3 separate regions of the Homo sapiens genome follow, and all the other regions are linked to region 3. Evidence: promoter capture Hi-C in 16 types of primary human blood cells and fetal thymus (Javierre and others, 2016). All regions are on one chromosome and are shown on one strand. Each heading gives the region's core, a stretch centred on a gene start or on the middle of the fragment in contact. The rest is flanking DNA. Distances are from core to core; before and after follow the strand shown.

Region 1 (3,693 bases), core at 198-2,697, 310 kb after region 3:
GGTGAAGGGCCTGGGGGGACCTTGGAACGCCCCATGTTGCTCTGGATGGTGGATGATGGGCCCTCTTGGGGGTAACCCCACATGTACCCCTTCCCCACCCTGCATCCGGGCCTCTCGCACATCTTAGAGGAGGGTAGACATCCCCTAAGACGTGCTCTAGGTGGAGGCTTCTGAGTCTGGGAGCACCTGAGCCTGAATCCTCTTCAGTTACTGCTCGTAGCCCAGGAAGCCGTGGCATCCTGGGGATGTGGTGGGAGGAGTGGGGAGACCTGGCGAGACCCACCCAGGGCCTGCAGGGCTGGATAGAGGGACATCTCTCATGAGCCTCCAGGGTCAGGATTGAGACCCTGGGGTACTCACCTGACAGAAGGGGACCAGGGGTCCTTCCAGAATGTGGGCAGATGCGCCACTGAATTTCCTTCTTGCTGAGCGGCCCCCACAGGCTCTTCGGTGGGGGTGGGGGCCAAAGGCCACAGGTGCACTCTGGGAAATCTGGGAGGGCACAGAGGAGGAAAGGAAGCAGCCCCTCCCCCTCATTGAGCCCCCACCTGGGAGAGGATGGAGTGAAGGAGAAGCAGGCTCCCGGGCCTCTGACTGTCCTCACTTTGTTTCCAGCCAGCCCCCTGGTTCTCTGGGCCTCTATTTATTTCCTCATCAGTAAAAGGAGGCCATAATCCTTGTCCTGGCTTCCTCTTGGAGTTTCGTAAGAGTTCAATGAACCCAAGGACGTGAAAGGTGTTATGCAAATGAGAGACATTATGAGTTATCTATTGGGAGGCTTGGATCCTGAGCTTGGCTCTGTCTCCAGGAAAGAGGCCTCAAGTTTCCTTCTGCAGCAGCGCAGCATACGGGGTGCACAGTGATCCACCCAAACGGCAGCTATGCTGCCGGGGCTGGTGAGACGTGGTCATTCACAAGGCAGCTCGCTGTGCTGCACAGCAGGTAAGCTTGCCTGCTGGTTCCCTGTTTCTAGAGGCAGCTGGCACCTTTGTGTGGAAGATCCCTGGGACCCAGAAGGGTGCCTTCTGCTTCCTTTCAGCCTGGGGCACACAGTCAGCCTGTAGAGTAGAAGTCGGGTGGGAGGAACCCTCAAACTCCAAGGCTCTGGGATAGATGACCAACTATGGCCACAGCTCCCTCCTGCTCGGCATGTCCTTGGCAATGTGACTTTGCCTCTTTCCCAAAAGGTGGAAACTAATTTCCCACCCTTTGAATCTGGGCTGGCCTCGTGACCTGGACTCTGGCCGATAGACTGCAGTGGAAATGATGTTATCCAAGTTCAAGGGGCTAGGCCTCCGGAGACCTTGCAGCTTCTACCTTTGCCCTCGTAGGTTGCTGCCCGGAGTCGCCATGAAGGAATGTGATGCAGCCTATTGGAGGAGAACCAAACCCCACCACCACCCCAGAAAGCCATACCAGCTGCCGACATGTACATGGGCTCATCGGGGGTTTTCCAGGCCCACTGATGTTCCAGCTGAGCACAGCTGCCGGGTAAGCCCAGGAGAAATCAGCTAGGAACCCCAGCCCACCCACAGGACCCTAAGAGAGGATGCGTCATTGGTCTCTGTTTTGTGCTGGCTGGTTATAGAGCATAGGCTAACCGAAGGCAGAGAAGGGAAGGGACTTACCCGAGGTCCCACAGAGAGCAGAGACCAAGCCTGTCTTGGTTAAGTCTGTGACCAGGTTTCCTGGCCCCTGTGCCCTTCCCATCAGTGTCCTGCCGCCAGCTCTACCAGCGGTGTGTGGATCTGCATGTATGTAGGGAGGTGCGGATCGGGTGGGCCCTTCCCACTTCCACCTGAGTTAGGAAGGGTTGGCTGACGTCCACACAGGGCTGTCCTGCCCATCATTGCAGGCGGGAGGGATGGTTAATCCCATTCTGCAGAGGATGAAACTGAGGCCAAGAGCTGACAGTCACACAGCTACTAGGTAACAAAGCTCTGACATCAAAGCTTTTGGTTCTTTGATGCCAACTCCAGATCCTTCTATTGACTCGCCGGAAGGAGAATGGCAGGTGGTAAAGTTCCCTCCAAGGGTCAGTCACTCAGAAAGGGCCACATACACAGGCACACACATAACACACAGGCACACACATGACACACAGGCACACACACGACACACACAGGCACAATTACATGTGTGCTTGCTCACTCTCTTTCTCTCCTTCTCACCCCTCCATCTTCAACCAGCCTACCCCTAATGGACCATGTACTTTATTAAAAATATATAGTTACGGCTGGGTGCGGTGACTCACACTTGTAATCCCAGCACTTTGGGAGGCCAAGGTGGGTGGATCACCTGAGGTCAGGAGTTCGAGACCAGCCTGGCCAACATGGTGAAACCCCATCTTTACTAAAAATACAAAACTTAGCTGAGTATGGTGGCTCATGCCTGTAATCTCAGCTACTCAGGAGGCTGAGGCAGGAGAATCGCTCGAACCTGGGAAGCGGAGGTTGCAGTGAGCCGAGATTGCTCCATTGCACTCCAGCATGGGCAACAAGAGCAAAACTCCGTCTCAAGAAAAAAAAATAATAATAAAAAATAAAAAAAAAATATATATATATATATATATATATGGTTACAAACTCTGTTGTCAATCTGGGCTGGGCCCGGGGCTGGAGGGACTGCAGGGAGGGAGGGATGGTCCCTCATCCCACCCCTCAGAGTCCCTCCTCTGCACCCAAACCCAACACCATCCAAGGGCCAAGGTGGCTGGCGTTGAGGGCCTCAAGGGGCCAGCCAGCTGGGCAGGGGAAGGCGCTAGGCTTGATGGGCTGGGTGGGGAGGGGTGCACAGAGAGGGACTGCATCTCCCTGTCCAGCAGGTAAAAACGGCAGAAAGTGAATTTGGTGTCTCCATCTGTCTCCATTTATAGATATTTACAAAAGAAAGTCATGAGCAACAGGCCACAGTCATGCAAAAGAAACGCACCCCCCCCTCCCCAAACTAACCCCCTGCCCACCCTGAAACCCCGAGATGTCCCCCGCCCAGCAGTCCAGCCACCTTCCCCAAGGTTCTGAGAGCAAAGAGGGCACGTCCTTGAAGAGTCAGTGGGGGAAGGGTGGTGGATCCGGGGACCTAGAGCCACCAGAAGTAGGCGCTGGCGGAACTCAGGCTGATCGGGGCCGAGCTCTTCCCAGGCCTGGGTGCTGGAGTCAGGAGGAAGGGGTCCCCCAGTCTTTGAAACCCCCACCTTCCTCCAGAAGGTCCACGGAGCCAGGGTTGGCTCTGTCCTGAGTGTGGGAGGGGGTGTCCTGGCATCCCACCCCCGGCAGAGGCTCTTGTGGGCAGTGGTGAGGGCCGGGCCTGGAGGTCAGATGGCAGACTCCCTGCGGTAGGAGATGTTGTCCAGCGGGAGGGAAGCCTGCATGCGCTCCAGGTCCAGGTGGCTGCCGAACTCCAGCATCCGGATGATGCCCGCCTCCTCCTTGGAACCCGCCTCCAGGCCCAGGCCTGCGGCCACCGCGGCCGCCGCAGCTGCCTCCTCCTCCATCTCCTCTTCCTCCTGGCTCATAAGGGCCAGCTCGTTCTCGTAGCAGAAGGCACTGGGAGGGGGCGGTGGGGCGGGCAGCACGGTGATCTTACTCTCCTGCAGCTCCCGGGCCGAGCAGCAGGGCGTGCCGGCCACCTCGTAGGTCTTGTGAAAACGTGAGTAGTCCACCTTGTAGTGGCTCTTCTCCTCGAAGACCACAG
Region 2 (4,029 bases), core at 564-3,063, 470 kb after region 3:
GGCCTTCCAAAGTGCTGGGATTACAGGTGTGAGCCACCATGCCTGGCCTGTTCGTTTTTTAACAAAGCTTTATCGAAGTATAATTGACATATGAGAAACTGCACACATTTAAAGTGTATTTAGGTGTGTATACACCCATGAGCCATTCACCACAATCAAGATAGTAGACATATCTGTCACCCCCAAAAGTTTATTTGGGCCTCTTTGTAACCCCTTCCAGCTTCCCTCCTATCCCCTCTCCAGCTATCCCTCCTGTTCTTCAGGAAACTGTATGTTCTAAAACATACATTTCATCATCAATTCATAAGCAATTCAAAATCAGGACTATAGGATTTTAACTTCATCTCTTCTAGTTTAACATCTGAATTTATCTTCTTCCATGCTGAGAGTATGGGTTTTCAGCAACACTGGGAATGACAGAATTAGAATATCATACAATTACTCATTTGCTTTATCCCACATTACAGCAAATGCTTTTTAAATGTTAGTTCCCTTTGATGCTCTACCCCGCTTCCCTTATAAAGGGCAAATAATTCTTCCCCATAATTTTCCCTTCTAATGTTTACAAAGGGCAGAGACAGGTTTCTTCATATTTAACATCCTGAGAGGCTACAACTCTGAGTCCTCAGTCATTTCTGGAAAGGGTCCATGCAGGGATGATCTTGGACTGTGCAACAAATGGTCCTGACAGACAGAAATGCAGTTTGTCCTGGGCTTAGAAAATAAGGAGACCTTCTTGCTGTATGGGGGCTAATAGTAGCGGTGGATAGGTAGACAGGCAATTCCAATCTACTATGGTAACTGCTGCCATAATGGGATGGCACAGAATGCTGTTGGAGCATAATGCAGTGGAGCACTTGTGCCTACCTTGCTCCTGGTATATTAGGGAAGGCTCCCAAGATGAGGGACGTCTAAGCGGGGTCCTGGAGGAAGAGCAGGAATTAGTGATGTTGGCAGTTAACAAAGAGGAGGGAGGAGAAGGCATTTTCAGGTCCAGAAGCAGCAACAGACAAAAGATCCAGAAATAGGAAAGTGTGGTTCCTAGAGAAACTGCAAATGAAGAGTTGACAGTGGCTGGGGTAGTAAAGGGAAGGTGAGAGAGTGTTCTGCTTATCTGCCCCACATGGTGCCTTGTACTCGGCAGGTGCTCACACGTTCTGGTTTCAGAAGACTATACTTTTTTTTTTTTTTTTTTGAGATGGAGTTTCACTCTTGTTACCCAGGCTGGAGTGCAATGGTGCAATCTCAGCTCACTGCATCCTCCACCTCCCGGGTTCAAGTGATTCTCCTGCCTCAGCCTCCTGAGTAGCTGAGGTTACAGGCACCTGCCATTGTGCCCGGCTAATTTTTTTGTATTTTTAGTAGAGATGGAGTTTCGCCACGTTGGCCAGGCTGGTCTCAAACTCCTGACCTCAGGCGATCCACCTGCCTTGGCCTCCCAAAGTGCTGGGATTACAGGCATGAGCCACTGCACCCGGCCAAGAAGAGTACACTTTATAACAGCAATAACAACAATAACAGCTTGTGGCAATTACAAAGTGAAAAGTACTGTGCCAAGAACTTTGCACAAATTATCTCATCTAATCCTCACAACAACCCTCCTAGGCAGGCATTCCCTTTCTGCAGTCAAGAAAGCACGTTCAGAAAGGTCAAGATGCACAGCTACTATGCTGAGTCACACATCCATATGGTGAAGCAGGGCAGGGATTCAAAGGCCCAAATTTTCTCATGCCAAAGCCTAAGCTCCTTCTCTCTTACCTTTCCTTCATCCCCTTTTACATGAGTAATAGCCTCCAAGGGGGTCACCTAGAGTTCTACTCAGGATTCAAGTAAAGATGTGTGTCTGAGGGATGAGCTACATTTCCCAAGATCTGCTTATCTGCTGCTTGGTTTGGGCAAACAGCCATCTGCACCATTTCTTTCCTCTTGGCTGTGACAGGTGAACTGTTCTAGCACAGACCAGGTCACTGCCTTGTGCCTTGAAGCTCAAATGATAAAACCTATGCCCTTCAGCCCAGCTGCTGGTCCTTTGGCAAACCAACCCCTGTGCCTGTGCCCCTCAGTGAAATATCTTCTGTCCCAAAGGGCTGCTGGCACACTGGCTTCATCTGCCTTGGTTTTTCTCAGATTCCACGCAGCTTTCTATCGGAGCATTAATGCATTTATTGGTTTACACATCCTTCTCTTTTTTCCAGATTGTGAGCCCCATAAGGTCAGGGACTGTGTCTTTATTTATCTCTGTATTCACAGGGCCTAGTGCAGGGATGGTACAGAATAGACATCTAGCAAATACCTAATCATCCCCCCCAAGTCCGTTTCTTCCTAGGAGAAAATGGAGGTAACAATATCCATCTTGGGGGACACCAGGAAGGTTAACTGAGATAATGTCTAAACCAGACTTAGCAGAGCACTCAGCACATACTAAGTACTCAATAAATGACATCACCTATGATTACTATTATTATGTTATACAATATTAGATACTCCAGGCCAGGTGTGGTGGCTCACACTTAGAATCCCAGTGCTTTGGAAGGACAAGGCAGGAGGATTACTTGAAGCCAGGAGTTCGAGACCAGCCTGGGCAACACAGTGAGATCCCATCTCTACAAAAAAATTTCTTTAAAAATTAGCCAGACATGGTGGCATACCTGTAGTCCTAGCTACTTGGGAGGCTGAGGTGGGAGGATTGCTTCAGCCCAGGAATTTGAGGTTGCAGTGAGCTATGACTGCGCCACTGCATTCCAGCCTGGACAACAGACTGAGAGTCTGCCTCTAAAAAATTTAATTTAGTTAAAATTAATTAAAAAAAATTTTTTTTTGAGACAGAGTTTCGCTCTTGTTGCCCAGGCTGGAGTGCAATAGCATGGTCTTGGCTCACTGCAACCTCCGCCACCTGGGTTCCAACGATTCTTCTGCCTCAGCCTCCCGAGTAGCTGGGATTACAGGTGCCCGCCACAACATCCAGCTAATTTTTGTATTTTTAGTAGAGATGGGGTTTCACCATGTTGGCCAGGATGGTCTCGAACTCCTGACCTCGTGATCTGCCCACTTCAGCCTCCCAAAGTGCTGGGATTACAGGTGTGAGCCACCACGCCTGGCCTAATTTAAAATTTTTTAATTAAAAAAATTAATTTACATTTAAATCCTGACTTTTGCTATGGTAGGAATGAACTTTACTATTCCTTGTCTCATGAACTGGGAGTGACTAAATGTGTCCCTAGTTGCAGTATTATTTTTTGTTTTCTTATTTCTATTTTAGATTAAATCAGACAACATGTGCATGCTTTACCTATAAAGTTTCTCTCAATTCTTGGACAAAGATTCACTCAAATGAGCTGGAAGGTGAGAGGTTAAGAAGGCAGAAGCCTGGGAGTCACACAGAAACACATTACAGATGTCATGTCCCTGGGCTGAGTTTAGAAAAGACAAGATGTTTGCCAGGCAGAAAGAGGGCATATTGGAAATAGGCTGGCAATCCCAGTGGTTAGAGGAGCAGGAGGCAAAGGTTCAGAGGCAGCATAATAGAAGCGCCTATCAAATTATCAAATTAATAGTTCCACAAAGCTTGTTACAAAAAATTGCACTCCTCTAGGCCCATTTTCCTTTTCCCTCACAACACTTTTCTCTTTTTCCTCTGTCCAATACTTACAGCATTTAATGTGTTGATACATCTGTCTTCCCTCTACCAGATGGTGACTCCCTTGAGAACAGGGACTGTGTCTTATCTACTGTTAATTACCCAGTGTCTACAGCAGAGAACTTCGGAAACCTTTCTAAACCTGGGCTTGCTGCTGCGTAAAATGCAGTGGATAATCCCTACTTCATACGGCTGGTATGAAAGTTTTACCTTTGTATGAGGTCATATTTGTAACATACTTACCAGCATGCACGTAATAAAATACTGAAAGAGTAAATCTATGAATAAATGTAGTGACCCAAGCACCAACTCTCTACTCCTGCTTTTCACTCAGCCTAGGAAAAACTACAACGGAATCCTTCCCCTATGGAGAAATCATGATTCCTATTTCT
Region 3 (3,938 bases), core at 1,249-3,748:
CATCCTGGAAGGGCAAGGGTGCAAAAGGAGGGCCCAAGAATGGGGTCTGCTGTGGAGGGGGAGCCTCACCCAGAATCTGTGAGGTGGGGCTCTGCAGGGCACGCTCCCCAATCTTCTGGATGGCACTGAAGTAGACCTCGGCCGCCTCGGACAGAGCTGTGGACCAGAAGGGACAGGTCTGGTCCAGCCCTGCCTCTGCCCCACCCTTCTGGAGGCTCTTTTCATCTGGAGGGGACTGTGTCTGTCCTGGGTGGGGTGTGGGCATCTGTGTGTGCCCCTGAGGAGGGTGTGACCAGTTGAGCTGTGAAACTCAGGTGCAGGGGCATAAGGTGAGGGCTGGGGGCAGGGAGGTGGCGTGGAAAGCATCTAAGAAGCAGGGGGATGGGAGGCCCTGAGGTTCAGGGTTGATCAGCACTGGTGGGTAGTGGGGTGCTATTGGCAGGTATGAGCGGCCACAGCGGACGGGTACAAGGGTTTGCACGGGGACCGAGTGAATGTCAAGGCCAGCTGCAGGGTGTGTGGGTGGTGGCCAGTTGAAGTGAGGAAGCCAGCTGCTGTGTGAGCCTGGGTGCAGAGGTGGGACTGAGTATAGGGGTGGGTTCAGCTGGTGGCATCCAGGTGACGCCTAGAAATGTATGCACTGTCAGGGGCTGCCCTGGGGCTGTGTGGGCCTGCAGGGCCTGGTACTGCATCATGGGAGTGTCTGGAGGCACCTGAAGGAGGGGGCAATGAGGGGTGCTGGGTGTGGACTGGGGTGCGTGGGCACAGGAGAGTGGGGGTGCATAAGGCCTCTCTGGCTGCAGAGGTGTGAGGGTGAGGGTGGTGGGTAGGAGGGTGTAGGGTTGAGGATGAACAGGTGTGGGATGCAGAGAATCTGGGAGGGGCCTGGGTGGGTGGGAACAGCAGAGGCCCAGGGCTGGGGCTCGGTGGCCCGGGCAGGCACTCACCGTGGAAGGCACGCAGGTAGTTGTTGCCCAGGTACACCAGGTTCTCCAGGGCGGGGTTAAACTGCTCCATGATGCTCTGGACCCCAGGGTCAGGGGAGGAAAAAGGTGTAGAGATGGGGGAGCGAGAAGGAACCACGGATGGAGTCAAGTCACCAGGCGTCAGGGACAGGGCACCCCCAGCCCAGTGAGAAGCCCCAGACTTTGGGGGGCCCATCTACAAACCTAGGCTCACCCAGAATCCTGGCTCTTGGCTGCAGGGACCTCAGAGCCCATCTTTTGGGGTCCTGTTCTAAGCTGTGGTCCCCTCACAGCCAGCTCCCGCTTACGTCTGCTCTGGCGGGACCGAGGTGCCTCCCGAGATGGTGCACCTGGAAGGTTCTCCTCCTCCCGCTGGGCAGAAGCTGGCCCGCCTGCTGTGGTCCCCACTGGGCACGGCTCAGCCCTGCCCTGTGTCCAGGCCTTGCCGGGCTACACGCCTGGGGCTGCCAACAGTCACCCCCGGGGCAAGGGCAGCTCTCGCCCTCCTCCGAGAACAGCCCCCCATGGGCAAGGCTGTGGCTGGATTAGTGTGGGCCTCCTCGGGCTGGGGCCGGGCAGAGAGCTCCCCGGATGGTGAAGACGGGCCTGGACTTGGGCCTGGACTTGGACTTGGGTCTCGGTTCAAATCCCAGCAGCACCTCTTCCTCCCTCCGTGACCTTGAATGAGCTGTTTAACCTCTTTGGTCTCAGTTTTCTCATCTATCAAGCAGGGTGGTCATTTTCCACCTCACAGGTGGGTGGTGTGAGGCCTCCAGGTGAAAGGGTCCTGCACACAGGAGGCGCTCAATAAATGTCTGTGGCGGCTGCAACAACCCCCCGGGGGTGAAGTAGGAAGTCTGAGGGGCTCAGAAATGAGAGAGACAGAGACAGGGAGAGACAGAGAGAGAGAGAGAGACAGAGAGAGAGAGAGACAGAGAGAGAGAGAGACAGAGAGAGGGAGAGAGAGAGGGAGAGAGAGAGAGAGAGAGAGAGAGAGAGGGAGAGACAGAGAGAGAGAGGGAGGGTCTTTCTTTATTCCCAGGCCGGGCAGCCAGGCCCTTCTCATCCAGACTCAACTCTCCCCACCCTGGGCCTTGGGCTCCCTCCTGCCTTGTCCAGCATCTGGGAGTTGGGGGTTCCCGCTGTATGGCTGAGTGCTCTCGGGGATCCTTACCCCCGTACCCACCCCTGGCCCAGCCTGGCTCCAGGCTTCCCTTTCCAGGACATCTGTAGCCCCGGCTGGCCCTCCGTCCTCCAGAGCGGGCCTGATTTCTGTGCCCTGGGAGGAGGGGCTCAGGCCTGGCTTGGCCACCCATGTGCTCACCTTGTAGATGGCCATGGTGGACCTGTAGAACTGGTCCATCTCGGGGGCCATGGAGGGGCTGTCCCGGGTCTGAGCAGGAGGCTGGGAGCTGGTGGCGATGGCACAGCCGGGAGCAGTGGTAGGTAGTCCCTCAGGTGCCCACGACTCAGCTGGCAGCGAGGAAGCCTCGGAGAGGGACCTGGAGATGGAGGCCTGCCTCAGAGGAGTGGCAGCTTAATTATTCACCAACTCGGGATGTCAGAATGTGATCTGGGGCGTAACCAGATCCGGCAGGGAAGGCATCCTGTGCCGGGCAGGCTCGTGTGACCTGCCCTTCAATTATTCACCCCTTGGAGCTGTGGGCTGATACAAGTGCCCATGTGGATGAGCCCCCTCCTGGGTCACCCCCTCCTCAAGGACCCCAACCCTGGGGGGCCCCGCCCTCCCACCTGCCTATACCAGGCATTGCCCACCTTACTGGGCGGGCGCTGCCCGATGCCCTCCCCCAGGACTCTCTCTGCCAGACCCAGCAGCAGCAGCCCCTGGAGGGGAACGCCGCTTTACTTCTCACTGTCCTCAGGCCTGCGGCTCACAGTGGGGCCACGCCCTCTGAGCTTGGCTCCCACAGCCGCTCTGGCCCGCCCAGCTCCTCCACTTGCCGGAGCAGGAGCAGCACAAACGCTGGAGTTGCCCAGCCCTGGGCAGACCTCGGCCCTGCACACGCGCTGCCTGTCCACGCGGAGTCCCCGGCCTCTCTGGGTGACAAATGGGGCTCTCCCTGGTCCTCCAAGATGAAGTTGAAGATTGTGGCCCTCCTTGGGCCTGCCGGGGGTATGTGGGCCTGGCAGCTGCCTCTGCATACCCTAAGGGCCGGTTTAGGGGAGGCCTAGAGGAAAGAGGAGGTGTCCCTGCCCAGGGATCCTGGAAAACAGAGTGTCCGGGTACAAAGGAAAAGTCCGGTCAAGGCCAAGGGTCAAGGCCGAGGGGAGCCGGGGGTCAGGGGAACAGGTGGATCTCACACCACTGCACACACAACACAGGTGAACTTGAATCCAAATGATTTATTTCAGTTTTGGCTCTTAAGCCACTTCCATTGGGAAGAAGAAACTCCCAGGAGTGACCTTTGAGAGCTGAGGGTTCTCGGGGTGGGGCAGTGTGAGGGGCTGGGCCAGTGTGAGGGGCAAAGTCCAACGGGCATCCCACTCCTGCGGCCTGGGCTTTCCCAGCTGATGGGGTGGGGGACACCCATTTCTTTAGTCCCAGCCCCCAGGGAACGGAGCAGAGGGCAGAGGGAGTGGGCTGCACCCACCAGGAAGCCTGGGAGTGCCCTTGCTGGGGGCTGGGGCAGAGGCAGCCCGGCAGGCCCTCAGGGAGGCTGGGGCTGGGGGCAGGGGTACGGTTGTGCCCGGGTACCCTTAATGTTTGAGCTGATGGGGGAGTCAGTTGTCCTTGACAGTCAGGGAAAGGGGCCAAAGGGGGCTCTAGACTTTCCCAGCCTGGAATGACAGAAAGTGCTGGAAGGCGGGGTTAGTGGGAGACAGGCCTTCAGGACCAGCCTCGGGCAGGCAGCTTGGCATTCTCCCAGGCCTGGTCTATGGACTCAGAGGTGCCTGGGCCCAGATCTGCCCGGGAGGGCAGTGGCTGGGCTTGGCCTGGCAGGGGCTGAATGG

The links. Contacts are between HindIII fragments. The CHiCAGO score rates a contact against its expected background, and 5 or more counts as called.
Region 1: a fragment that was not itself captured here is called in contact with the fragment with the promoter of BAIAP2L2 in region 3 in 1 of 17 cell types (endothelial precursors); the score reaches 6.1 in endothelial precursors.
Region 2: a contact is called between a fragment that was not itself captured here and the fragment with the promoter of BAIAP2L2 in region 3, in 3 of 17 cell types (naive B cells, endothelial precursors and total B cells). The highest score is 7.6, in naive B cells.

What each region holds. Positions count from the first base shown.
Region 1 is chr22:38,423,482-38,427,174 of GRCh38, forward strand. LOC105373030 (a long non-coding RNA gene) reads right to left here and starts at 737. Exons shown (of 5, transcript XR_938254.4): 1 at 361-737. It overlaps LOC101927183 (a long non-coding RNA gene), which reads left to right and starts at 797. Exons shown (of 3, transcript XR_938252.3): 1 at 797-942; 2 at 1,332-1,491. It overlaps KCNJ4 (potassium inwardly rectifying channel subfamily J member 4), which reads right to left. Exons shown (of 2, transcript NM_152868.3): 2 at 2,846-3,693. The coding sequence ends at 3,314. The HindIII fragment of the contact is 1,005 bases long and covers 946-1,950 here.
Region 2 is chr22:38,581,995-38,586,023 of GRCh38, forward strand. FAM227A (family with sequence similarity 227 member A) reads right to left here. Exons shown (of 17, transcript NM_001013647.2): 17 at 1-4,029. Among named protein-coding and RNA genes, the nearest start is that of DMC1, 14 kb to the left of the region's middle. RefSeq lists an enhancer at 1,023-1,072 and a silencer at 3,617-3,817. The HindIII fragment of the contact is 3,497 bases long and covers 66-3,562 here.
Region 3 is chr22:38,108,186-38,112,123 of GRCh38, forward strand. It overlaps BAIAP2L2 (BAR/IMD domain containing adaptor protein 2 like 2), which reads right to left and starts at 2,499. Exons shown (of 14, transcript NM_025045.6): 1 at 2,290-2,499; 2 at 948-1,023; 3 at 70-156. The coding sequence starts at 2,340. PLA2G6 (phospholipase A2 group VI) reads right to left here. Exons shown (of 17, transcript NM_003560.4): 17 at 3,310-3,938. The HindIII fragment of the contact is 13,026 bases long and covers 1-3,938 here.